Linked DNA regions of Homo sapiens: region 2 is linked to region 1. The links are contacts of gene promoters, found by promoter capture Hi-C in human tissues and cell types (Jung and others, 2019). All regions are on one chromosome and are shown on one strand. Each heading gives the region's core, a stretch centred on a gene start or on the middle of the fragment in contact. The rest is flanking DNA. Distances are from core to core; before and after follow the strand shown.

Evidence for each region. Contacts are between HindIII fragments. The study calls those that stand out against the background at their distance.
Region 2: a contact is called between a fragment that was not itself captured here and the fragment with the promoter of TEKT4 in region 1, in 2 of the 25 tissues and cell types used here (hippocampus and spleen).

What each region holds. Positions count from the first base shown.
Region 1 is chr2:94,869,419-94,875,504 of GRCh38, reverse strand. TEKT4 (tektin 4) reads right to left here and starts at 4,075. Exons shown (of 6, transcript NM_144705.4): 1 at 3,428-4,075; 2 at 1,915-1,985; 3 at 1,397-1,540; 4 at 507-729. The coding sequence starts at 3,925. It overlaps LOC442028 (a long non-coding RNA gene), which reads left to right. Exons shown (of 10, transcript NR_037597.1): 9 at 1,953-2,116; 10 at 4,808-6,086. RefSeq lists enhancers at 976-1,837, 3,738-4,251, 4,765-5,278. The HindIII fragment of the contact is 10,124 bases long and covers 1-6,086 here.
Region 2 is chr2:94,905,620-94,912,060 of GRCh38, reverse strand. The region is part of intron 5 of LOC442028 (a long non-coding RNA gene); the gene reads left to right. Among named protein-coding and RNA genes, the nearest start is that of TEKT4, 37 kb to the right of the region's middle. The HindIII fragment of the contact is 7,749 bases long and covers 1-5,741 here.

The sequences.
Region 1 (6,086 bases), core at 2,826-5,325:
TCTTGGGGCTGTGTCCAGAGGGCAGTCCTGACCAGTGGCCCTGGGGAGGCGTGGATGAGGGGAACAATGTGCACGGGGCCCCCAGTGGGCTCTGGAGAGTCAGGAAGCCTGTTGTCCCTTAGCTGTGGTCCAAGAACCCCCATCCTTGGTGGTCACCAGGACCTGAATCCTGCTCAAGGACTGGGGACTCAGAGGTGGTAAAGGCCACGCTGAGACCCTAGATTCAGAGCCCTGCCTGCCAGGCCAGGACTCTTGGGGACCTCCCGGGCGGTCAGTGTTCCCCAGACCACCTCCTGCCTCCATCCTCCCCACAGCTCCTCCTGCTGAGTCATAGGGGTGGCAACACCGGTCGATCATACCCAGTGTCACCTGGTTTTACATAGGTTTACGGAGAGGAGACACTTGCTTCTGGGGTCCCTCGGGATAAATGGGACAGAGGAGAAAGGTGTTGAGGGCCCAGGCCAGGTGATGAGAGGGGGCCGTCTTCGGGGTTCAGGGTGCCCCACCTTGTGCAGGTGGTGATGCAGCTTGTACCGCGCGTCCTCCAGCTCCTCACAGCGGCGCCCGAAGGCCAGGTTCACGGCGTCGCACTGGAGCCGCAGGTCCTCGGAGGTGTCGCGAAGGATGCAGTCCACCAGCACCCGCAGGTTGGCCGAGGCCAGGCGCTCGCGCTGGGCACGGCACAGATTGTCCTGCGTGAACTTGGCCCGGGTCTCCGGGGTGGAGGCGCTGCGGGGCGGGGGACAGCCAGGAGAGGGTCGGGGAGGCTCTGCCGAAGGCTGGGAGCCCTGCTGCGCCCCCATGCCCTGTCCGCGCCCCATGCTCCTGGAGGACGTGCATGGACTCCGATGCACCCCATGCTGCCCCACAAAGCCCAGTCCCTCAGGCTCCCTGCCCCCGAGTGCCCCCTGGCCACAACTTCTCTGAGTCCCCCCACACCCTACCCACCCCGGGCACTTAGTCCCCTCGTGCCCCCGCGACCCCGTTCCCAGCACCGCTGCCCCGGAGGCCCCCTCTGCAGCACCTCCGGCCCCCGCAGCCCCCCTTCCCTAGTACCCAGCGCCCGCGCCCTCTTTTTGCTCCCAGGAGTTTGCCGCCCTCTAGTGGGCGGTGGTCAGGCTCCCTCTGCTGGCCTTGGGCGGAAACGCAATCCTGCCAGCGCCTGGGTCTGACCCCACCCTACTCTGTCCTGTCTGCCGGCAGCCAGGCTGTGCACGCGCTGGACATTTGAGGAGGTCTTGGTCGCTTGCTCATGCCAGGGGCAGACAGTTGCCCAAGTGCCCTCGGGGGCGAGGGCCTCCGGGCCAGGCTGGTGAAAGCAGCGCCGCTGGGGCCCCCAGGCAGAGGGAGGCGAGACCACAGCCAGGGCAAGTGCAGGGGCAGAGCTGGGGCCCACCTCTCTTGGAAGGTGGTGGAGTACGGATGAGCCTGCACCTCGGTGCTCTGGCTGTGGTGGCGCCCGCAGGTCTCGTCGATGTTGTAGGCCTCCATCTTGTCTGACCAGTCCATCTCGCAGGTCTCCTTGTGCTCCCGGTTCAGTCTGGGGCGGGGTGGGGCAGGGCCTTGATGTGTGCCCAGGGAGGGCCCTGCTGGGGACCCTCTGTGCTGCAGGCTGGGCCCCAATGCCTGCCTCAGGAGGGAGTTCTGGGTGGGCCTGTCCCGGGCAGCCCTCGTGCTCAGCAGTGACCAGGAGCTGCGGCCCAGGCTGGGAGGCTGCAGATCAGATGTGGCACTGGGCTCTGGCCACTCAACCTCAGGCTGCGCCGGAACCTCCCCCACCCAGTCCTGCGCTCCACTGTGACCTGGGGCAGCCCCTGCTGGCTCTGAGTCTCAGGGTCCTGTCGTTCAATGCCTTGCCCCAGGACCAGCTGTGGGTAGGGTCAGGAATCATCCCTTGGGCAGCCCTCTACCCACCGGATCTGGCTCACTGCTTGCATGATGGTTCTCTTCAGCAGCTCCTGAATGTTCCGGATGAGCTCGGCTTCCTGAGGGAGGAGACGCCCTGAGCACCAGAGCCAGTCCCTGGTGAGGATCCCAGGAGGCCCAGCTGCTGCAGGCCTTGGTCAACACCTGAGCAACCACAAGGAGTTGAATGCCGGGCCTGAGCTCTGACTGTGTAAGTTCTGCTCTCTCACTGGGTTTATCTTGGGCTTTTGGGCATTCTCCTTGGTGCGTTGTAAGTGGGGTGTTTTCCTCCAGGGCCTTCTGTGGGCTGCTGGGAAGGTCCCTCAGCGGCAGTTCCCACGCCCCAGGCTTCAGGAGTCATCGCTGCTGCTCACTCAGTGCACCTGGGAACGTTGGCCTGCCCTTGGCCTCTGGACAGCCCCTGAGGACCCAAACTCTGGGGGCCCAGATGCCCGCCCAGGCTGCCCCTCAGGGCTCTGTGCTGGGAAAGGCCATCTTCACACCAAGAACAGGAGAAGGACCCTGTGTTTCTTCTTATTGCCTGGCCAGTTTAATTTGCTGTGTGTAGGAACAAGCCTTTTCTCTGTGATTGGGGTCTTTGCCTCAACCACTGGGTACTTCCTTGTGTGCCAGGGCCCGGGTCCTGCGCCCCTCTATCCCTGGGTTTGCCTCTCCGTGCACTGTCAGTGTCTCCATCAGTTGGCAGGTGCCCTTGTTGCGGGCAGAGAGTTTGCGGGAGCTGCAGGAGTTCTTGAGGCACTGAGAGAGTGCAGGGGGAAGGGCCTGCAGAAGGGTAAAGAAGGGAGGAGGGAAGGCATGAGGGGAGGGAGGGACTCAAGGGTTCTTGCCTGAGCTTGGGGTATGGCAGGAGACCAGCTGCCCCCACCCCACATCTTTCACGAATGTCTACAGGCCTGTAGTGGTTCTCAGGGAGGCCCCAGGCTCTGAGAGGTCAGAGAATTCTCCAGAGCCAGCATCTGGGCCAGGACTGAGTTACTCTCTCACCCTGTGGGGCTGCCCCACAGACAAGCTGGGGTGGATTGGGAAGTTATAGGGGACATGGAGGAGAGGGGACCTGTGGGTGCAGATCTTTGTGTCCCCGGCTCTGTATAGGATGAATGGGAGCAGTGGCTCCCAGCCCACCCCACCTTACCTGTCCACACCTGCAGTGCTGGCCCAGACCTGGGTTTCCACCTTGGGAGCAACTGTCCCAGCGAGGGAGGGTCTCTGGGGAGGTGCCTTGTGGCTTAGCCCAGGGAGCCCAGGGTCAGGATGACTGTGCCAGGACTCAAAGGGATTAGAGGAGGAGAGGAGAAACAGCTGCTTGGAAGTCAGGGGTCTTCTGGGGCAAAGCTGCCTCCTGTCACTAAGGGGCCAGATTTCGGGACTCAGGGGTCTCACGTGCAGAGGGCTGGGCTCCCGCGTGCTTGCAGCAGCCACGTGGCTTGTCCACATGAACTGCGGGGGGGGGGGCTCCTCCTCTCTGCGCCCACAAATCCCGGCCACCCAAGGGTGCTGGCACCTTCAGCAGCTCCGTTTCCACATGGTCGCGCACGAGGTTGGGGTGCTCGCGGCGCTCACGGCACTGCAGGTTGTCAGTGGTGATGGAGAAGGGCACCTCTGTGGCGTCCAGGGCGCGCTCCAGCCGTTGCTTCTGGGCCAGGAGCAAGTTGGTCTCCGCAGCCAGCGCCTCCATCTCACGCTGCAGCTCCGACTTCCAGCTGTGCGTGTCCTGCAGTCGCTCGCCCACTGTGCGCGTGGAGTCTTGCTGCGTGCGCTGCGCCAGCGCCTGGGTCTCTGTGGCCAGCTGCTGGCTCTCGTGCCGCTGCCGCTCCGACTGGTCGCGGTCGGCGAAGGCCTGGTGGTAGCGAGCATAGCAGTTCTGGAACCACTCCTCCAGCAGGTACTTGGAGGTGCGGAAGCTGGCGGTGGCCAGGCCGGAGGACGTGTAGGCGCCCGTGTTACGGGCCACGTCGTACTCTTTGCAGGGCAGCTCGCAGGGCGGCACTGTCTGCGCCATGGTGCCTGCCGCCCACCAGGGCCAGGGGAGTGAGGACTGTGTGTGGTCAGCCGGTTGCGGTCAGCCTAGTGCGGTCAGCGGGGCAGCTCCAACGGCTCAGTCCCAGAGCAGGACGCGGCTCCCAGTCGCTTGGGTGACACTGTGTAAACCAAGAGCTTCCTGTTGCCAAGAAACGGGATCTCTTCTCCAGTAGCTAGGGGAGGGGCATTCAGGGTGGTGGGCAGAACTGCCCTCTTAAAGGGCCAGGCAGCCCCAGCCCCACCATCCCTGTCCCCGCCTCGGGGCAATCAACAGTGGCCAAGGGTTCCTGTCACTTAGAGGATCCTGGGGCCAGCCCGTCTCCAGCCTCTGAGTCCCACCCTTAGGGTTCAGGGTGTGGGTGGGGACCTACTGCCCTGGCCCCTTCCTTGGTTCATCCATTTGTTCCTGGTTTGCGCTCTGATCCTGTCCTGTGCGGAGCTCCGCGCTCAGGGTGAACAAGACAGGAGACTCTGCTCAGTTGCAGCCACCTCAGGGCAGAGGGCTGTGGCTGTCGTGTGGGTGTTGGGTGTGCTGACTGATAGTGTTACTTGATGCCGTACAGGTGGCTGCTCTCCCTGCCCTCCTGGCCCCAACAGCAGCCTGGTAGCACAGGGAGGGTTCCAGGCCAGGTCCCCTCGGGGGCAGTCTGAGGCAGTTCCTGCAGGAACTCTGCTCCATTTTCTCCTGCACCTAGTGCCTGAGAGCCAGGCCCTGGCCTCTGGCCTTCTCCTCCCAAGTCCAAGCCAGGGTCCCCTCAGGCTGGGCACAGCGGGGAGGGAGTCTGAGTGTGCTCTTCGCTGGGGAGTTGAATTCAGCCTCTGGGTAAGTGTCCAGAGTCAGACGCCCAAATCTGCCCCACAGGGCGGAGGCAGGTCCTGTGCTGCGGAGGCTGCCCTCAAAGCCATTCAGGGCCAGGCTGCCTGGCGGAGGCTGGATGGGCAGGAAGCGCCCCAGGACACATCGGAGTCCCCCTAACCTGGGGCCAGGGGAGCCCCAGCCTAGGCGCGATTCCCCACACGGCCAGCGGAGGGCGACGTTGGTCTGGCACTGAGAAGCCTGCGGCTCCTGGCTCGGCCTCCCCTCCGTCTGCCTGGCGCATGCAGTCCTGGGGACCCCCAGCCCCTCCGGCCTCCTCTTCTCTGAGAGCCCCCCACCAGAAAGTCCTCACTAGGAAGTCCATACCCTTCCTACAGCACAGACCTCTGGGCCCCTGTTCTCTCCACCTTCACCCCCTCTCCCACCACAGCCCACACCCTCACTCCAGCCACAGGAGCCGGAGCTCCTCCTGGGCCATTCCCACCACCCCGCCCAGGGTCTCTCCAGCCCCACCATGTGCCGGCCAGTGCCCTCCTCCTGGACCTGACCTCCCCCCGTCCTGGCCTCTCCCGCGGCCAGAACCCTCAGTCCATGCTGCTGTCACCACGGTGCGCCTGGCCTGACACAGCCTCCTGATGGGGCTTTTGAGGACAGCAGCCCGGAGACTTACCCTAACCCAGGCCGAGTCAGAACCTGTGGCAGGCGGCCTGGGAACCTCTTCTTACTGTCCATCAAAATTGGGAGGTCAGGGGACCTTCAGGGACTGGTGTGGTCTGAGAAACATCCTCGAGCCTCGCCATGACTCAGTTTCCCCAGATGGCAGCAGGCTGGAGCCCACACGCAGGGCAGGATGCCAGGCTCCACCTTTTGTCTGGAACCTGCATTCACTGGGCACCTCTCTTTAGGCAGAGCAGAGCAGAGCTGCCCGTGTTTGTCCCCTGATCTGTGGCCCCAGGAGCCCGAGAGACCACCTGAGCCAACGAGAAGGCCTCTGGGCCAGAGCCCAGCTCTGCGAAGTGGGAGACTTCTCAGCCTCCACTTCCAGGTGCCCTGAAGTCGTTGGCAGGGGGTGCTGCCTGCTTGGGGCTCCCAGACTAAGGGAACACATTCATGTGGTGACCACGATAGGCCCTGCAGGCTGAGGCACAGGATTTGACCAAGGACGCATCAGAGATAGGAGACTGGGCCCTCACTCCTGCCAGCTGCAAACTCCCAAAGCCCCCAGCCCTCTCATGGGGTGAAGATGCCCTGAAGGACACTCCAGTGTGCTCCCACCTCTGGGTTCTGCCAGCCAGAGAGTGGGACCCTCAGGCCACATGTGTCT
Region 2 (6,441 bases), core at 618-3,117, 39 kb before region 1:
TACAAAACGGGGAAAATGTGAAAAGGAAACAGAATCCACTTTGAATAAAGTTACATAGCCAAATTTGAGAAAATTGGGGCAATAAAATAAATAACAATAGTAATATATTACAATCTACAGAAGAAAATTTTCAGTTAATCCAGGCCGGGTGCAGTGGCTCATGCCTGTAATCCCAGCCCTTTGGGAGTCCGAGGCGGGCAGATCACTTGAGGTCAGGAGTTCGAGACCAGCCTGACCAGTGTGGTGAAACCCCGCTTCTACTAAAAATACAAAAGTTAGCTGGGCATGGTGGCACATGCCTGTAGTCCCAGCTACTTGGGAGGCTGAGGCAGGAGAATGGCTTGAATCCCGGAAGGTGGAAGTGCAGTGAGCTGAGATCGCACCTTGGCACTCCAGCCTGGACGACAAAGCAAGACTGCATCTCAAAAATAAAAAAAAATTAATGAATCCATATTGACATAAATAATACATTAAATATAAACCAAAGGGGGAGAATGGGCAGTATTTTATTACAGTAAGATTTTATTAAATGTAGGAGACATAAAATGCAAGAATCATCATTTTGCAAATATCATAGTAATTGTAGGAAGAAAGAACCTTGGAGGGATGCTAAGATTAGTGGTGAATATATGTTGGGAAAGAACATATTTGCATAATATGAAAGTATCTTCCCACAGGATAATTACAGAATAGTAACTTCAAAGTGGAGATGCTACCTTAGCCAAGTGATCAAAGTTAACATTACTAATAATAAGGTAAATGAACTTCATGTAACTTCTTATATGATGCACTGAGTAGGACAAAACATCAGTTCTATGGTATTCTTAGACAAAATGTGTAACTTTAGTCCTAATCATGAGAAAACATCAGACAAATTGAAATCGAGGAAGGGCGTTCTACAGAATAACTGCCAGTATTCTTCAAAAGCATTTTACAAAGACTGAGGAATTCTCCAGAGACATGGAGACATGTCAACTAAGTGCAATGGAGAACATGGATTGTTTCATGAACCAGAGATGGACAACACTAGGATGTATAAAATAATACCCCAACATTTGAACATTAAGCTACAAAATACTTCAGAAAAACTCATGGGCCAAGAAAAGTTTCACACGCACACACAAAATAGCTTAAACTGAAAGAAAAATTTTTAAAAACTTAAAACATGGGATGCAGATAAATCATTTCTTAAAGGTAAATTTAGATGTAATATTGAAAATAAAAGGCTTAAATCAATGACCTCTAGGTTCTTTTTTAAAAAGCTAAAAAAATGAAGAGCAAAGTATATCCAAATTAAGAAGGAGATAAAGATAAAAAAGCAACAACATAGCAAATAACCAAAGGTGGAGCTAATTAATACACCCACAAATTGGTTCTTTGACAAAAATGTTTTAATGAACAATGGCTAGCAAGATTTATCACAGAAAAAAATTAGAGAAGCTACAAAATTTAGATAACAGGAATTAAATAGTTTGTAATTACAGAACCTATAGACATCAATATAATTATGAAAACTTTAGGCCAATACAATTTGACAAATAACATGGGAAATTATTTGTAAAACTAATTCTTAAAACTGATGCAAAAAGAAAGAAATAATAGCTTCTCTATGTATTGAAGAATTTTTTTTAATTAAAAATTTCTATAAGAATTCCGGGCTGCATGGTTTCTTAGGTGAATTCTATCAAACATTTAAGAAAGTACAGAGAGTCCTCAACTTACAGTGGTTTGACCTTGTGCTCTTTTGACTTGATAATGGTGCTTTCATGTGTGTACATTAATGATGAGCATCAATATGACCAGTTTTTCACTATCAGAATAGTTTTCAATAAATTTCATGAGATACTCAATATTTTAAAATGGGCCTTGTGGTAGATGATTTTGCCCAATTGTAGGCTAATAAAAGTGTTCTGAGCAAGTTTAAGGTAGGCGAGGCTAAGTCATGATATTCAGTAGGTTAAATATATTAAATGCGTTTTAGACTTAAAATATTTTCAATTTAGGATGAGTTCATTAAGACAAGCCCATTGTAAGTTGAGGAGTATCTATAATGCCAATCTTGAACGGACTCTTTTTAAGAAATAGAATTTAAGGGCCGGGCACAGTGGTTCACACCTGTAATCCCAGCACTTTAGGAGGCCGAGGCGGGCAGATCACATGGGGTCAGGAGTTTGAGACTAGCCTGACCAGCGTGGAGAAACCCCCATCTCTACTAAAAGTACAAAATTAGCCGGACATGGTGGCACATGCCTGTAATCCCAGCTACTCGTGAGGCAGAGGCAGGAGAATAGCTTGAACCTGGGAGGCAGAGGTTGCAGAGAGCCGAGATTGCACCATCGCACTCCAGCCTGGGCAACAAGAGTGAATCTCTGTCTCAAAAAAAAAAAAAAAAAAAAAAAAAAATTAAAGGGACCCTTACTGCCTTATTTTATGAACCCAGTATTGCCCTGATTCTAAATCGAGACAAAGGCATTATACAACTTTGATATTTATTCCTCATAAACATAGACTCAAAAGTTCTTAAAACATAATAACCAATTGAATATAGCAGTACATAGAATGGATAATAAACTGTGAGCAAATGAAATTTCTAACAAGATTGCAAGGTTAATTTATTATTTGAAAGATCAGTTTAATCAATTTTATACACCTGGGAGGTTACATCTGGCAAAATTCAGCAAACTGTGCACTTTAAAATAGGAGTATTTATTTTATGTAAATTATGTTTCAATACAATTGATTTTTTAAAAAAACGTTTCCCAGAGTGATCAAAGTGGAGGGCAGGGAACAGTAAACATCATTGTTTACGTTACAGCTACTGGAAGCCTCCGAATTCCAACGACGTGCTTTCAATCAGGTCTGATCCTTCCCCTGGCGGATACCTCTGACTCAGGTGTGCTACAAATGCATTGCCCCTAGTTGCTTCTATCACCTTAGTGATGGAAGTGAGAAGAGGGTACTGGAGAAAGAAAAGGTGTACAGGGTTCCAAATGTACTTTCTTTTTCCAGAGGACACTCGTGAAGCCAGTGGAAAGCAAACAAGCTGCTAAATAAGTCACAAGCGTGTTCTCATACAGTTTTGCGATTAAATAGGACATTCAATCAATAAAATTTGTTTTACATAGTTCCTCCTCTGATAGGATGAACTTGTGGATTGTGAGACAGGGCTGATAGAACCTGTTTTCTCTCTGCCTCTTTTTTTTCCCCCAAGTTTTGTGTGCAATACATTAGGAAAAATATAATTGGGCTACAAAGCTACAAAAATGGCTTCCTGACAGCCTCATACTTGTTTCCATGTGGTGCCTATGTTTGGCACTGTGTTCTCATTTGCATTTTCCTACTTGATTAGTTAATGTATGAAGGACAAGCCTGATCTCTACTGTGAATTTCTACCAAGGTATTTTAGTAGAAAAATAAGTATGTAATGGTGCTGTGGACTGCTAAAGTGTGTAAAACATTAAGAATCTAAAAATATGCTCATTTCCAAGTTTTGTCCCAGAGCAACTGTGCACGCTGATTAAATCACTACTGTTATTTGAAGTTATCCATTTGCATGTCTAAGAAATGGATTCATACTGATTGTCCCATTTTGATCTCAAAAAACTCCTGAATATGAGAGTCGTGATCAAGGGACGCTTCATGAAATGTTCCAAAGTTAAAGTGTGCAATGAAACTAGATTCGTCATAGCCTCATCTAAAATAATTATTTCTAAAATTGTTGTTGTTTAATTATAAGCTGTATCCTTTCAGGATACTTGGAAGAGCCATAACAGTGTTTATATTTTTACAGAACAAACATAAATTATCTATGAAATAATCACTCAGATATAGAGATTAGTTCCTATTGGCCTTACATATGAATATAAATAAGTAAAAATTATTAACGTATAAGCATACTTATAATTATGTAAATGTGTGTGTAATGTTATTTGTAAGTTCAATAAAGTCATGCTTGTACATAGTTTCAATTCATGCTTCTAAAAACCACTCAATGTAGTCATTATCGTATGTTAATAAATAATCTCTGAAAATATGCTTCTGGTAGTTGCACAATATCCCTTCATAAAGACTGTCATGCTGTTTTTAAGTCATACTTTTGGGTACATAGGTTATATCTGATATTTTCCTGCTACATATATACTATTATAAATCTATTAGTAGTTGATTTTTTGTCAACACATATGATTGTTTCCTCACAACAGTACAAGAGTTGGTTGTAACTTTATTTCCTTCCAACATTTATTTTAGGTTCAGCGGGTACATGTGCAGGTTTATTATGTGGGTAAAATGTGTGTCAGTGGGGTTTGGTGTAAAGATTACGTAGTCATCCAGGTAGTGAGCGTAGTATCTAATAGGGAGTTTTTTGATCCTCACTCTCCCCCCACCCTCCACCCACAGTAGACCTTGTGTCTATTGTTCCCTTCTTTGTGTCCACATATGTGGACTCAATGTTTAGCCCCCACTTATAAGTGAGAACATGCAGTGTGTGTTTGGTTTTCTGTTCCTGCATTAATTCACTTAGAATAATGGTCTCCAGCTCGATTCATGTTGCTGCAAAAGGCATTATGTCATCCTATTTTATACGTGTGTAGTATTCCATGGTGTATTTTTTTTTTAATCTAGTCTTCTGTTAACAGGCATCTAAGTTGATTACATGTCTTTGCTGTTGTGAATAGTGTTATAATGAAAATATGTGTGCATATGTCTATGACAGAATGATTTATATTCCTTTGGGTATATACCCAGTAATGGGATTGCTGGGTTGAAAGGTAGTTCTGTTTTAAGTTATTTCAGAAATCTCCAAACTGCTTTCCACAGTGGCTGAACTAATTGCATTCCTGATGAAACTGGAGAGTTCCCTGACTCCCCTTGGCAGGATGTGCAACAGGGGTGTGGCTTGTCTGGCCACCGTGTGCGCTGTCAAACCCCTACTGGGCAGGAGAGCATGCAGACAGGCAGGTGCAAAAGCCAGGGCAAGTGGCCATGGTAGCGTCTAGGGGTGGGTGCCTGCGACTCCCACAGCCCAAGTGGGCATGTGTTACAGTGCACTCTTTTAGCTTTGTCATCCACAGACAGCTTAAGTGTTAACCCGTTCAGTGCCCTCTTGGTACCCAGGTCCTTGTCCAGCATCCAGAAAGAATTAAGTTGCACACAGACTTGAGAATGGTGAATGTGTGGGGGTTTTATTGAGTGGTGGAGGTGGCCCTCAATGGGATGGATGGGGAGCTGGAAAGGGGATGGAATGGGAAGATGATCTTCCCCAGGAGCTTTGCCATCCAGAGGTTGATCTCTCCAACCACTGCCAGCCAAACTCCTCTTGGCATTCAGATGCTCCTTCTCTTCTTTCTGCCACATCATTCTGCAGTTCTGCTCTTCTGTTCATCTCCTCATCGGCTTGTCTGCTTCTGGAGCCTGGGGTCTGGGGTTTATATGGGTACAAGGTAGAGGGGCATGGTAAGCTGAAAGACAACTTTTGGGTGCAAAAGCAGGAATGCCTGTTCCCATTTAGGGCCATGGGTTTCCAGGCTTGTGGGCAGGGCTTTGCCAGGGAACCGCCCTCTTCTATCCAGTATTTCCCTGCCTCCTGTCTGTATCACCACCAGCAGTGTATAAGCATTCCCTTTTTTCCGCAAGCTCACCACCGTCTGTTATGTTTTGACTTTTTAATAATAGCCATTCTGACTGGAGTGATATAGTATCTCATGGTTCTGATTTTCTGATGATTAGTGATGTTGAGTATTTTTTCATATGCTTGTTTGCCACATGTACGTCATCTTTTGAAAAAAGAATCCACAGACAGCTTAAGTGTTAACCCATTCAGTGCCCTTGGTACCCAAGTCCTTGTCCAGCATCCAGGAAGAAGTTGCACACGGACTTGAGGATGGTGAATGTGGGGGTTCATGTTTTTTGCCTATTTGTAGTGGGTTTGTTTTTTGCTTATTGATTCTTTATACATGCTGAGTATTAGACCTTTTTCAGATGTGTAATTTGAAAATATTTTCTCCTGTTCTGTAGGGTGTTCTCTGTTGATAATTTCTTTTTGCTGTGCTGAAGCTCTTTAGTTTCATTAGGTCCCACTCGTCAATTCTTCTTGTTGCAATTGCTTTTGGAATCTTCATCATGAAATCTTTGCCAGCGTCTATGTCCAGAATGATATTTCCTAAGTTTTCTTCTAGGGTTTTTATAGTTTAGGGTCTTATGTAAGTCCTTCATCCGTCTTGAGTTGATTTTTGTATATGGTGAAAGGAAGGGAGTGTACACGCCCCTGTGATATTGTTCCTAATATCCAGGTTGGGAGAGGATAATATTACACTCAATATTGCAGGAGGTGTCAACCACCCTGAATATTGCTTTTAATACCCGGGGAGAGAGGGTGATATTACTCCCAATATCATCTTCTCCCCCCACCCCCTGCATAGTAGAAACAATATCAAAGGGGGT